Linked DNA regions of Homo sapiens: region 2 is linked to region 1. Evidence: promoter capture Hi-C in 16 types of primary human blood cells and fetal thymus (Javierre and others, 2016). All regions are on one chromosome and are shown on one strand. The core of a region is centred on a gene start or on the middle of the fragment in contact, and the rest is flanking DNA. Distances in the headings are between cores, read along the strand shown.

Region 1 (7,020 bases), core at 4,198-6,697:
CAAACAGAAAAGGAAAGACAACATGCTTTTTTAAACAAACTTTTGCAAGATGGCAAAGTACTTGAAGGAATGGTCACTGCCCCTCAGGACCTCCAAGAGGCTCAGGTCTTGAGGCACCAAGGAGATGCCAAAGGCTGATGTGAGGCTTAGCCTAGACAAGGGGGGAGCCACCGAAAGAGGTGTTCAAAGCTTTTGGATCCCCAGTTCCAGCAGGAAACCCAAAGTTTTTTCTGAAGAAACTGAATCACAGTGACAGGAGAACTGTAGCCAGAAGTCGAAGGCTACAGCCTCCATCCCTCCCTCAGCCAGGTAACCCAAACCCTGGCAGCTGGCATATCACCAAGCATACCAGAGGCAGGAGATGATGATTTCTTCATTGTGAACACTGGCCCCAAACGAGATGTAAAGGTGTTGATATTCGGGGCAGACTCCCAATGAAAAGTCCACCTGAACTCACAAGTCACTAGACCACCAATACACACATGTTCTCTCCTCTGCAATCAGCTCCTCAGGATCTTTTTCTTCATTATAGACAGTCAAGGATCACCAGATATTTATGACTTAAACAAACAAAGAAAAGATCCCTGAAATGAATAACCACACTGGAGGAAACAGAAGAAATATTAAAAATATATTAAACACAAAGAAAAAATAAAAATACACACATCAGAGATAAGTAAAGATAATACATCCATAAAATAAGATGCAATGAAATGGAAACAGAAAAAGATTCTAAAATTTAAAAACATGATCATTAAAATTGAGAACCATTCCCCCCCTCCCACTCCTTCCAGTACAAAGAAATACGTAAGACATGAGATTAGTTAAGAAAATTTAAAGATCATTTGTAGTGGGTTCAACAACCAAACCAACAGACATCTCAGAAAGAAATACACACACACACACACACACACACACACACACACACACACAGAGAGAGAGAAAATAAAGGGTGGGAATTATTAAAAAAAAAAAAAGCATTTCTGAAAACTAAAAAGAGTCTCTAGATTGAAAGGACCCACTAAGGTAATACAAGAAAGAAAAGGAAGAAAGGAAGGAAAGAACCAACCAACCAACCACACAAAAACTTATAAAACTTCAGAATGCCAGAGAAAAAGAACCTGAGCTTCAAAAAAACAGAAAAAAAGAGGCATCAGAATGGCTTTGGACTTTTCATCAAAAACCCTTAAGACAGAAAACTGTGAATATGCCATCAAAATTATGAAAAAATGTATTTCTACTTAATATTTTAAATTCAGCCAAACCATCTATAAAGTATGAGGACAGGATAGATACATTCAGACATTCAAGGCCTCAAGTAATTTATCTCCCATCATTCCTTCCTAAGAAGCTACTGAGGATACATACATAGTAGCAAAATGAAGCAAACCAAGAAAAAGGAAGACAGGAGATCTAAAAAACAGAGGTTCCAAGACAGGAAAGAAGTAACAGGAAGTCCCAGAAAAAATAATCGTACTATCTAGATTGGAGCAAGAGGATGGAATGCTCCAGACCAAGAAGTCTCTAAGAGGAAACCAAGTGGCACTGATAGATGATTTAATGTGCTACCTGGAAAAAAAAAAAATCAAAAGGCATTTAACATACTTCTTGGAGTAGTTGAGGGAACACAGCCAAAGATAAATAGGTAACGAATCAAAACGCAATTTTGATAAAATGCAATTATTTGCTGTGGGAAAAACAAAAATGTATAAAAAAAATCATAAGTCACTATTTAGCAATACCTGTGTACACAATAATGTAAATACTGCTATTTTTACAAAAAAGTTACGTAACTACATTGGAGGATTTAAGAGAGAAATGAGAAAGAGCTCAGTTATGATACTAGAAAGTCAAAGACTTATTCTACATTGATTTAGAATGACGAAAGTAAAAAAAGAGGAAGAAAAAATAAACAGACCTAGCTGAGGTAGTAGCTACCCCTGGAAAGTAGAGCCTGAGGGATAAAAAAGACAAAAGCAAGAGCCTGCTGTGTTTGTCAAAAGTCTTTTAAGCCGGATGCGGTGGCTCACACCTGTAATCCCAGCACTTTGGGAGGCTGAGGTGGGTGATCACCTGAGGTTGGGGGTTTGAGAACAGCCTGACCAACATGGAGAAACCTCGTCTCTACTAAAAATACAAAATTAGCTGGGCATGGTAATGCGTGCCTGTAATCCCAACTACTGGGGAGGCTGAGGCAGGAGAATCGCTTGAACCTTGGAGGCAGAGGTTGCGGTGAGCTAAGATCATACCATTGGACTCCAGCCTGGGCAACAAGAGCGAAACTCCGTCTCAAAAAAAAAAAAAAGCCTTTTGGTTCTCTTAAAACTATATGCATATATTAACTGGATTAAAACAATTTATTCTCATATCAAGGGTAATTAGTTCAATTTATAAAGTTGTCACTATCAACTTCATTTATAAGTTTCTTACTTGGAACTCTAAACTGTCTTAAAAATATTATAAAATAATGGTTCGTTTCCTATGCCAGCGTTCAGAAGGCACAAAATCTGTAGTGATTCTAAAATACGGTGCAAAGCTACTATTCCAAGAAGCCTTAAGTACCATAACAGCTTCTGTGAGAGACTGCATTCTGAGAATTCGGAGTGCCTTGTACACATCTCAGTACACATCTCAGTCCTACCCACTTGGCTCTTCCCTACCTGGAGGAGCCAAGGAATTATTTTAAAGGTAGAATGTATGAGGGAGATGGGAAGGGATGGAAACAACGAACCTGAATCTGGCAGGATGGAGTGACTAGAGATCCTCTGTAACAGGTCAACCCTATTTGCACTAGAGAAAATACTACTAGAAGTCTCTCTCGCCCCCGGGGATAGACAAGGGAGTTAATTGAAACAATGCTTCCTACCCTCCCAGCAACAGCATTTCTGGGCATAAATTGGATGCTCATCAAACAGGAGCTTCCTCTGCTGCAAATACTGCTAAGAAAATTAGTTCCAGGCCAACCTTTGAATAAGGTAACAAATATATAACTCAAGTGCTAATTAGCAATGATTTATTTTCCACCATGACATAATCAAACTTCTACAGACAAAATCTTCATTTCATTCGATAAAACTTTGCAGCCTATGTCAACACTGTTTCATTTTTTTCAAAAATATGAACTAGGCCAGGTGCGGTGGCTCACACCTGTAATCCCAGCACTTTGGGAGGCCGAGGCGGGCAGATCACGAGCTCAGGAGTTCAAGACCAGCCTGACCAACATGGTGAAACCCTGTCTCTACTAAAAATACAAAAAATAGCCAGAAGTGGTCGCTACTTGGGAGGCTGAGGCAGGTGAATCACCTGAACCCAGGAAGCAGAGATTGCAGTGAGCCGAGATCACGCCACTGCACTCCAGCCTGGGTGACAAGAGCGAGACTCCGTCTAAAAAAAAATTAACTGTGTGACCTTGAGCAAGTTACTTTAAAACCCCACTTTCCTCATCTCTACAATAGGCATAATGCCACCTACCTCACTGGGCCCCGAGAAAATTAGAAGAAATTATGTGTATAAAGCATGTAGGGGCAGGTATATGGCAGGAATTCAATGTCAGTCCCTGGTTGTCTTCTGTCTCCTACCTACACCTCTGACTTTGTTTACCCATGTAAACAAAGTCACAAGCTATATAAGTGCTTTTAACCAAAAAGCCTTTACAAAACCATGCATAATACGTTAATATTTCTAAAATTAATGTGATATGAGTCGTCTTGTATTATTTTTCCTAAATCTTAGTCTTGTGTTCCAAGTACTACCCCAAGTAGAGTTTTAATTCAGCTAAACTACATTCAGCTAACTCAGCTAGACTAAGAAGGATTAAGAATGAGCACGACTTCATAAAAAGAGCATTCTTCTTTGGCTAAAAACTGCAAATCCGTACATGTAATGTCTAAAGAGTCTGCTTTCAGTAATTCCATTTCTACACTGAGTCAATCTCAACACACCTCAACAAAGTCTTATTACTTAAAAAAAAATAGAATACTGACAAATAATGGATGCAATAGAGAATAATTTTTCCCCTCAAACACTCAGAAGCACCACCTTCAGATGAAATAAAGATACTGCCATAATAACAAAAGAATGCAAACGTCTAGGTACCAAGGACTTCCTTTTTGGGGGGTCGTTCCTGTCAGATCTTCCTCTAAGGGGTCATTTCCAGAATCCACAAAGTCCTAACATAAGACCCCAGCAATTTTTCAAATTAATTCCCCAAACAACAAAGCTAAGCAAGTAAATGGAACCACAAACCGACCCAAGACTAAGTTCTTGTTTCCCTTCAAGATACTCAAAAGTAGGAGAGTGGCCCAGAAGTACAGAGTCAGTCCAAACTCCCAACACACCCAATGCAAAAACCAAAAAGGTATTGAAACTAAAAAGGTCTGCTACCTGGCGATTCATTCACTAAAAATATGCTTAGAATCTAAGCATATGCTCCAAATCTACGTCCCAAGAGTTGGAGGCTGCCACGAACATTTGGTGCCCTTATAACCTCCCCTTCTTTCTCTCTCGTTTTTTTTTTTTTTTTTTTTTTTTTTGTAAAAGGGTAAGCACAGAGCGTGGCCTCTACTGGAGCATCAAAACCACAGCAAAGGGTTTGCAAGTTCAGTCTAAAACGTGAATTTCGAGATATTCAAAATCGAGGGCCCTAGAGTGACACACATAGAAAGCGTCAAAAAAACTTCGTGCAGCAAGGAAAAAAAGTTGTAAGGGTGACTGACTCTTCTAGGGAGAAGGGCTAAGGAGGCAGTGAGGAGGATGGGATGGGGTGAATCTGGGTCTATCGCGGCGGGGCAGCGAGGGCGGCACGAAGGCTGACCCAGAGCTGGGGACCGGGCAGGGACCACACCTCCCAGCCAGCACGGCAGGCAGAGACCGGGCCGCGAGGCGAATCCGGGCGCGGGGGGCGGGGAGGGTACTCGCCCGAGGTCCACGGCTCGCAGACTGATCCGCCGGCGGCCGGAAGCTGCCCCAGCCGGCCCGACCTGCCCGCCCCGGCCTCGGCGGCCCCACTCACCGATCAGCCGGCGCACCTCGTCCTCGCTCAGGTAGAGACTCACGCTGGGCCCCGCGGAAGCCGACTGCAGCTCCGGGGGCCGCGGGGCGGGGGCGGCGGCAGCGCCAGGCGCGGGCAGCAGCGGCAACAGCGCAAGCAGAAGCAGCAGCGGCGGCGGCGGCGGGGCCCTCAGGCCGCGGGCCCCCGGGAGGCAACTCCGGCCCGGCCGCCCCAGCCGCGCCGCCCCACGCATGGCCGCCGCCGCCGCCGCCGAAGAGGAGCGTCGGCCGCCCGCCGCACCGCCGCCCACCCCCGGCCCCGAGCCGCTCACAGCCCCGAGCCGGGGGCGGCTGCCCAGCTCATCGCACCGCCGGCCCGTGGCAGCCAGCAGTGGCTTCAGACCTCCGGAGCGCGCCGCCGCCGCCGCCTCCTCGCTGCATCGTCCGGAGTTGGGGGCTGCCCGCGGGACGCGCCCGTGCGCGCCGCCGCCTCCCCGGGAGCGCGCACGCACCTTTCGCTCTGGGCGGGCCGGCCTGGGCAACGCGCTGGGGTTTTAAAGTGCCTCGGCGGGCGAAGGGCTCGGGTCACCCTCTCCGCAAGAGCCGGTCCCCGCCCCACGCGGTCACTGCGTCTAATGTTTGCTTGTCTATTGTCTGTAACCCTCCTTTCCCGACGGACGGGCCAGGCTGGAGCCACCGGCCGCGCCTGCAGCTCAGTGGGCGCCCCAGGTCCCCGGAAACGCCTGGATGCGGCCGTTCTGGTTGCGAAAAAGCAGCATGCTTTCCTGTTTAGTGGGAAAACTCAAATAAATAGAAATCATCCTTTATCTTACCATCGGTGATCAACTTTATCGTTTCCGTATCTATTATTAGAATTTATACTACATATATTTGTTTTCCAGAAAGATCTTAGCACGCTTTACTAACCCTATTTTTACGTTACAAAATTTTATTTATTTTTATATTTTTATTTATTTATTTTGAGACGAAGTCTTGCTCCGTCACCCAAGCTGGAGTGCACTGGCACGATCTCGGCTCACTGCAACCTCTGCCTCCTAGGTTCAAGCCATTCTCCTGCCTCAGCCTCCCGAGTAGCTGGGATTACAGGCGCCCGCAACCATGCCCGACTAATTTTTTTGTATTTTTAGTAGAGACGGGGTTTCACCATGTTGGCCGGGTTGGTCTCGAACTCCTGACCTCACGTGATCAACTGACCTCGGCCTCCCAAAGTGCTGGGATTACAGGTGTAAGCCACCGCGCCCTGCCAAATTGTTATTTTTTTTATAATCGTTCTGCATCACTATAATCAACCTGCCTTTGGGGTTGTTAATCTGTGGTCCATACCAGGCTTCGACAGCCTTCCAATAATATGAAACTGTGTGCAAAAGTGTATGTGTCTCCGTGCGTATTTGTGTCCACGTCCATGTTTCTGTGTGTTGTGTGTATGCTTGATTGCACACAGAGAGGTGGTATGTCATCATTTGTTCTAGGGAGTCCTTGTGCCCTCAAAGAGGTTAAGAACTGCAGATAGACCTCGTGTACTTAAAGGCGGTGGAGCCAGCCAGTGCATGGACTTCCGGGCCTCCTGATGTATTTTTGTGAGCCGCCCACCATCGCGGTCAAACTTGCACCAGTGCCCCCTCTCTTGGTGAGGCTCCAAGGGCCCCTGCCCTGTCCTGGGACACCTCGTCCCTGCGGACAGGCCCCCGTCCTGACCCCAAGGCTCTCGCGGGGCCGTGCCTCGGGGAGCAGCTGCTCTGACAGCTAGGCCTGGCTTCGGGGCACAGTTGCTCCATCGCAGTGAGGCCCTGGGAAGCGGTTATTTTTATCCTCAGGGAAGGGTAGGGAAAAGGAGAGGCTGATAAGGAGGGAAGTGCTGGAACTTGATTTTCTCCCTCCCTAGCAAGATACACGGATTCCATTTAGAGATAGGCTGGCCTCAATTTGTCAAGCTTCAGCGCCTCAGCACAAAATCTTACACCCTTCATCCTGCCGGAGGAGGCTGAGAAGAGGAAGAGGGGAGGAAAAGTG
Region 2 (6,796 bases), core at 4,031-6,530, 590 kb before region 1:
ATATATGTATTTCTATAGCTCTCTCTTAGAATGCTTTTTTTTTTTTTTTTCCAAAACGAAATCTTGCTCTGTCACCCAGGCTGCAGTGCAGTGGCGTGATGTTGGCTCACTGCAACCTCCACCTCCCTGATTCAAACGATTTAGAATCCTTTTTTTTAAAGACTGTCCACCTATAGTGGAAAAATGTAAGTGATTAAAAAATGAGTGTCCTTTTAAATTAAAACAAAAAATTTCAATTAGCCAGTTTTCAACAAAACAAATTCTACTATATTCAATTTACTTAAAAAATGTACATGTATACATATATACACACTGTGGTTGTATACTGAACTTTGTTAAAAGTCACGAACAATAAGCGGAAAGTCTTTTAAGCTATCTTCTATGCAGTGAAAAATTAAGAATAAGAGATAGATATATAAATTGATCAATCATCATGAGATCAATATCTACCCTTTTTTCTTTTTCCAGACTTGTACAAGATATGGTTACATCAGACATAACCATATTATAAACTGGATGTTCGGCTCTTGGGACACATCGCTGGTGGTGCATACAAAATATGACTACTTGAGGACCAACAATTCTGCAGCCAAGCTACAAAAAAGAGAAAAGTTTAAATGAGTTAAGAAGGAAAAGACCACCAGTCTTACAAAATTACATTTTGTAACATTCACCAATTCTTTACCAAAGTTGATGACCACTGTAGAGAAATCAGCAAATCATTACAAGAAAAAAATAAAGATGACTATATAATTTCTCAGAGATACTATACATTAAACACTCACACACAAAAGCAAATCAAACAATGCAAGCTATCAAAAGAAATAAACTTCAGGCCAGGCACAGTGGCTCACGCCTGTAATGCCAGCACTTCAGAGGAGGCCGAGCGGGGGTGGATCACCTGAGGTCAGGAGTTCGAGACCAGCCTGGCCAACATGGTGAAACCCCGTCTCTACTAAAAATACAAAAATTAGTCGGGTGCAGTGGCGGGCACCTGCAGTCCCAGTCTCTAGGGAGGCTGAGGCAAGAGAATTGCTTGAACCCAGGAGGCGGAGGTTGCAGTGAGCTGAGATCACGTCACTGCACTCCAGCCTGGGCGACAGAGTGAGACCCTATAACAAAAGAAAAAAAAAAAGAAAAGAAAAGAAATAAACTTCAAAAGCCCCTTTCACTGAAAACTGCCTTACTGCTTACATCTATAAGCCCAATATTTTGGGAGGCTGAGGTGGGAGGATCACTTGAGTGCAGGAGTTCAAGACCAGCCCAGCCTGGCCAACATCGAGAAACCCTTTCTCTACTAAAAATAAAAAAATCAGCCGGGTGTGTATATACATCTGTAATCCCAGCTACTCAGGAGGCTAAGGCACAAGAATCACTTGAACCAAGGAAGCAGAAGTTGCAGTGGGCTGAGCTTGTGCCACTGCACTAAAGCCTGGGCAACAGAACAAGACTCTGTCTCCAAAAAACAAAAACAAAAACAAACAAACAAACAAAAAAAGCCTACTGTAACATAATTAGCCTTTCAATCCTGGTCTTGCCAAACCAAAAGAATTCCAATGTACTCATAAGTTGCATAGTACTTTATAATCCGCAAAGAATGTATGTCCATTAAAGCAAAGATAAACCAAAAAATAGACTACCAAAGGTACACACTAGAAGTCAGCAAACCTTTTTGAGGTGATCAAAGACAACGCCACTAAAAGGGTCACAGATATAAAGTGATCTATCATTCTCCTTTATCTTCAATGCCTCTTCTTCTGTAATAATCTGAAGATATTCTTCTGATTGGAATTCTTTTATGGACTGAAAGAAAAAATAAAATAAGAATGTACCTGAAATTACTCTCCTGTATTTAGGTCCTATTCAAATTCCATCTCAAATCCAGCCTTTTCCCTATTGAAAGCCACCATCACATCTCACTTAGACCTCTGCAGAAGGCTCCCAAGTGGTCTCTTTTTCCCTTCCTTGCCCTAAATCTGTTCTCTACACAGCAGCTAATAATCTTTTCAAAAACACAAGTCAGATCATGTCACTATCTGCTCAAAACCTAATGTCTTCACACCACACCCAGAATAAAATCCACATTTCTTACTACAGCCTTCAAGACAACACAGTCTGGTTTCCTGCCTATCTTTCCACCTTTACCTCCTACTTCTCATCTCTCTTGCTTATTCTATTCCAGCCACTCCCGCTTTCTTGCCAACCCTGGAACAAGCCAACCATAACCTCATTTAGAGGCTCTGCTCTTGATCTTGCAGCACAGAATACTTTTTTTCCAGGTTTTCACCTGACTTAATCCCCCACTTCAATCAGGTCTGCTTAAATGTCACCTCCCCAGAGATGCCCATCCTAATCAGGCTTTCTCAAATACCCTTCCTCTACCCTTCTAGTCTATTCTATTTAAAAATACGTATTTATATATATATATATAGTTTTTGTCTCTCTCCCCTGGAAGTTTCTATGTATCTTGTTTGCTACTATATCCTGACACCCAGTAAGCACTCAGAAATGTTCTGAACCAATTTTGAGGTCCTTATGTTAAATACAGTAATCCCTTTAAAACTGTAAGTCAGATCATGTTTACTCTTCTGATTATCAACCCTCCAATGGCTCTCCACTGAGAGAAAAATGGCCCACAAGGCCCTACATGACCTCTTTACCATTATTCTCTAACGCATTCCTTAGTACTCTTCCCCCATCCCTCACTCACTACACAACAGTACACTAAACTTGGATAGAGACTACAGGCACTTTCCCAGGGGCTGTATAAGGTTGCTCTCTCTGCCTGCAACATTCTTCTCCAGATATCTGCAAGGCTATCTCACCTCCTTCACGTTTACTCAATATCTTTTTCTTCATAAAGCCTACCCTGATCACACCCTATTTAAGATTATAACCCCCTTCTCTTCCCACCCCAAGAAACATCCTCTGGAACCCCTTAACGTGTTTTGCTTTTTTCTCTTCCTAATTTATCATGTCTGATTAGTGTCTATGTCCTCCTGCTAGAATGTAAGCTCTGAAAGAACAGAAATCTTTGCCTGTTCTCATCACTGATAAATCCCAAGTACTAGAGAAGTGCCTATCAAATCATGAACACTTCAATAAATACTTGCTGAATGAATGAAGTTTAAAAAAATCTGCTACAAATGCTTCTCAAACTTTAATGCACACTGAAGATCTTGTTAGAAATGCAGATTCTAAGTCTGGGTTGGAGGCCAAGATTCTGCATTTCGAAGAAACTTCCAGGCCATGCTGATACTGCTGGGTTCTGTGAGAAGCAAGGATCTACATCACCCCTACTATCATCCAATTATTATACTGTACATAATAAAACATAATTTTTAACAATTAACCAAAAAATTTTCAAGTATGACCAGTACACAACTGACTCAAATTTCTACAGCACGCAAAGGACCACTCTGGCTAGGAGACAAATGAAAGCAACTTAATTTCCAAGAACTGTAGGTCAGCCATATTAAACAGCAATGTGATAATAGACTTCCAGCCCCCCGAAATACATAATGATGTACTTAGATCAATTCAAAAATATGTGATAATGATATATCTGTATTAATGTAGACTATAAAATTATTATGAAAGTGAAATATCTACTTCTAAGACATAAAGCCCAACAAATCAAAAACACTTAAAAACAAGAAAATGAATTCACGGTATTAAGATGTTTTCAACTCTTACCTCGAGAGCTTTAAAAAAACATTTGGAATTGTCTGAAGACTTTAAAAACTTCACAAAAAACGGTTCTTTGTCATTTCTGGACATTTCTGAACTGTCAAAATAAAGGAACCATTAACAAGAACAAAACCACATTAGATAAAAAGTTGCATGTTTAACCTACCTATTTTTCTGTGCAGACAAGAATGCCTAAAGACAGACATTCTGGCTCTGCCCGTGAATTCGTCAACGGCATTTCTAAGAAATCCTGGAACTTGGACAAAGCCAAGGTAAAAGATGACAACACCAATCCTTGCAAATCAGACAGCAAAATTAACCCGAATTGAATACACTGAGGAAGGCCCTGCTATGAAGGCTCTAAGCCCTTTAGGCCAATGGACATTCAATTGCACTTGTTTTAAGGATACACAGAGTGTATCTGTCCCTGCGGATACCCACGGCCTGCGAGGTACGTTCATCCCTCAGTAAACAGATTTTAAATATAAACATGGAAGCCAGTTAGCATGGTCTTGGCCCTGCATAAGGCTAGATGCTCCGGTTCCCATCTCCAGGAAAAGGCCTGGCTCTGGGATCACGGAAGCCACGTCCTCTCGGCGTCAAAGGCCCACCCGCCGGCTCCAGGGCCAGTTACCAGGACAGGAAAAGAGGGTCCTGAAGGCCACAGAAGGCATCGCGAACCCCAGTTGGGGCTGGGGAGGAGCTGTGTCCCCACTCCGCGCCTCACTTACCTCGTTGGAGCCTCGGGGTCTCCGGGCGGCGAGTCGGGGGACGCGCTGGCCGCAGGGCGGTGGCTGGGGTCGGGCGCCAGCCCGGCGCACAGCCCCCTCCCCCGACTCGGCGCCGCCCCTACCCCAAAGCAAACGCTGGAGAACCCGGAAATTGCCCAGAACGGGAACCGACTTTCGCGCCAACCGCGCGGCCGCGCTTGCCTTTTCCGGTGGAAGTGACGCCATCGGCAGCTGCAGCAGAAGAGCGGAAATGTCAAACGTGGAGGTGAGCAGTCTGTGGGCGGTGGGGCTTCAGGGAAAGCTTGGGCCGGACCCTTTGGGTTTAGGGCTTTGCTGGGCGGGCCTAGTCTCCGCTGCGAGTAGGCCCAGCGCCGTCGGTTCAAGAGGTAGGACCACAGGCCAGGAATACTCCTTTACTGTTAAAAAAGCCAGGGAAAGAAAGGATTTCCTCAATAGATATTTATTTTACACCTGTCTTATACCAGGCATGCACGGGAAAAGGTATTATCCAAAACAATTCCGTGAGGCAAATAGTGGTAGTTCCATTTTGTAGATGTAAAAACGGAGGAAGTTAAATGATGGGTTCAAGGGCACACGGCTAGTAGGTGGTAGAATTAATACTGCATCCAGGTCTTCTGACTACGGACTGGGTGGTTTCCCTCCAACACAGCAGGAATAGAATCACCGCCTAACACAGCCACAAGATGGCAAGGGAAGAAAGGATGACTTATTACACAGCTAATGCAAAGGGATCTTTGTCAAGATCTTCAATGGTCTCCCCTCCTCCTCCCCTTCAGTGGACATCGCCGTTCTCTTTCTCTGCATCTGCCTCAGTACTGGGGAGATTCTGGGACTGAACCTAAGATTCAGATGGCAGAGAGCAAAGGGAGAGGGGATAAGATGGGCCTGCAAACCTTAGTGATAACCAGCGGAAAACTGATTCGTTGTTGCTTCTTTTCATTTTATTCTTTTTTAAAAAAATTTTTTCTTATTTTATAAAATCTAGCCACTATACTAATGAGGATCATTTTATTATTCACTGCTGAGATTGAGAAAATGACTTTGGATTTACTAATGTAAAAGTATAATGCCATGTCCCTTGATTGTTTTTGTTTTTCTTTTCTTTTTAGAGCCTAAAGATAGTAATGAGCAGCTTGAGTCTTAAGTTTTTGAATACACCGATGGAAGGTGACAAAGATTCTTTGCTTGGCCAAACTTTAGTCAGACTCCTCAACCTTCTCGTAGGTTTATCTGTGCATTTCCTTGGAAAATCCAGTTAGAACCCTCTACCCTCAATATCTGATCAGGTTCCTCATCCTCTACCATCCAAGGTGATGTCTGATCACCTTGACCTATTTTCAGCAAGAAACCCCTTTACTCCTGAAGTTCCTTCTTAGTAATTTTTTATCCAGTGACCCCAAGCTTTTTGTTCCTTGGCTATAAATTCCCACTTGCCCATGGTGTATTTAGAGTTGAGCCCACTCTCTCTCTCCTAATTCAGAATCCCATTGCCATGGTTGCTATACCTATCCTGATGGTCCGGAATAAAATCTGTCTTACTGTGCTTTAATAAATATCATTAATTTTTTTTTTTTTTTTTTTTTACCAGAAATGAGTCAGAATCAATTAACACTGGGGCTCAAAGGTAAAGGCCTATTGCTGGGGGAAGGGTGAAGAAAGCCTTAAAAGCAAAAAAACAAAAATCACTAGAGGTGGGAAAAAAAAGAAACCACAGTTAATTGTTAAGGTGCAAATCTGACCTGAATCTGTAATAACAATTAATATTTCTAGGGCACTTTACAGTTAACATGGGACTCCTGCTCACACTATTCCCGTTTACTCTTTTCAGCAACCCTATAATAGATGGGTATCATTGTCTCATGTTATGGAGATGGGGAAAGTGAAGTTCAGGGACTGTGTCACTTGCCCGTGCCTTTCCTGACACACCACACTGCTCCTGGGCACGTGCTGTCTGCCCATCTCTGTGTGAAGTTCCACACCGGGGAGGGAGCCCATTCCTGGCATTTCTGGGCCAAGTAGAGACCTCACAAGAGAAGGAGATTCATAGATGCTGCTAATGAAGATGAAGAAAATGCACCCTTTAGCTTTTACCCAGCCGGAACTTGATACCAGAGGAGTGACCTGTCTTTAGAGTAAGAGTTCACCACTAGGGGGCAAGTTCTCCCATCTTGTGTCTCCAGATAAGCAGAGAGGGTCTGTCTCTAGTATCTACTCCTGGAAAATGGATAAAGCAGTGGTTCTGATGTGTAGTGTCTGGACCAGCAGCATCGGCATCTCCTGGGAATTTTGGGGGAATGAAAATTCTTGGGCTCCACTTCAGACTTATTAAGTCAGGAGCACTTGGGGTAGGGCTA

The links. The method cuts DNA at HindIII sites, captures the fragments that hold promoters and counts their contacts. A CHiCAGO score of 5 or more calls a contact.
Region 2: a contact is called between a fragment that was not itself captured here and the fragment with the promoter of RYK in region 1, in 5 of 17 cell types (activated CD4 T cells, naive CD4 T cells, non-activated CD4 T cells and 2 more). The highest score is 9.2, in activated CD4 T cells.

The regions. Positions count from the first base shown.
Region 1 is chr3:134,245,412-134,252,431 of GRCh38, forward strand. It overlaps RYK (receptor like tyrosine kinase), which reads right to left and starts at 5,448. Exons shown (of 15, transcript NM_002958.4): 1 at 5,012-5,448. The coding sequence starts at 5,243. RefSeq lists an enhancer at 4,689-5,467 and a silencer at 4,803-5,622. The HindIII fragment of the contact is 6,752 bases long and covers 188-6,939 here.
Region 2 is chr3:133,657,348-133,664,143 of GRCh38, forward strand. TOPBP1 (DNA topoisomerase II binding protein 1) reads right to left here and starts at 4,594. Exons shown (of 28, transcript NM_007027.4): 1 at 4,422-4,594; 2 at 3,697-3,787; 3 at 1,669-1,803; 4 at 451-594. The coding sequence starts at 3,780. It overlaps LOC124909487, which reads left to right and starts at 3,879. Exons shown (of 3, transcript XM_047449438.1): 1 at 3,879-3,999; 2 at 4,166-4,686; 3 at 5,552-5,991. The coding sequence starts at 3,879. The coding sequence ends at 5,701. It also overlaps a transcript of TF not described here. RefSeq lists a silencer at 4,381-4,550 and an enhancer at 4,951-5,020. The HindIII fragment of the contact is 1,121 bases long and covers 4,721-5,841 here.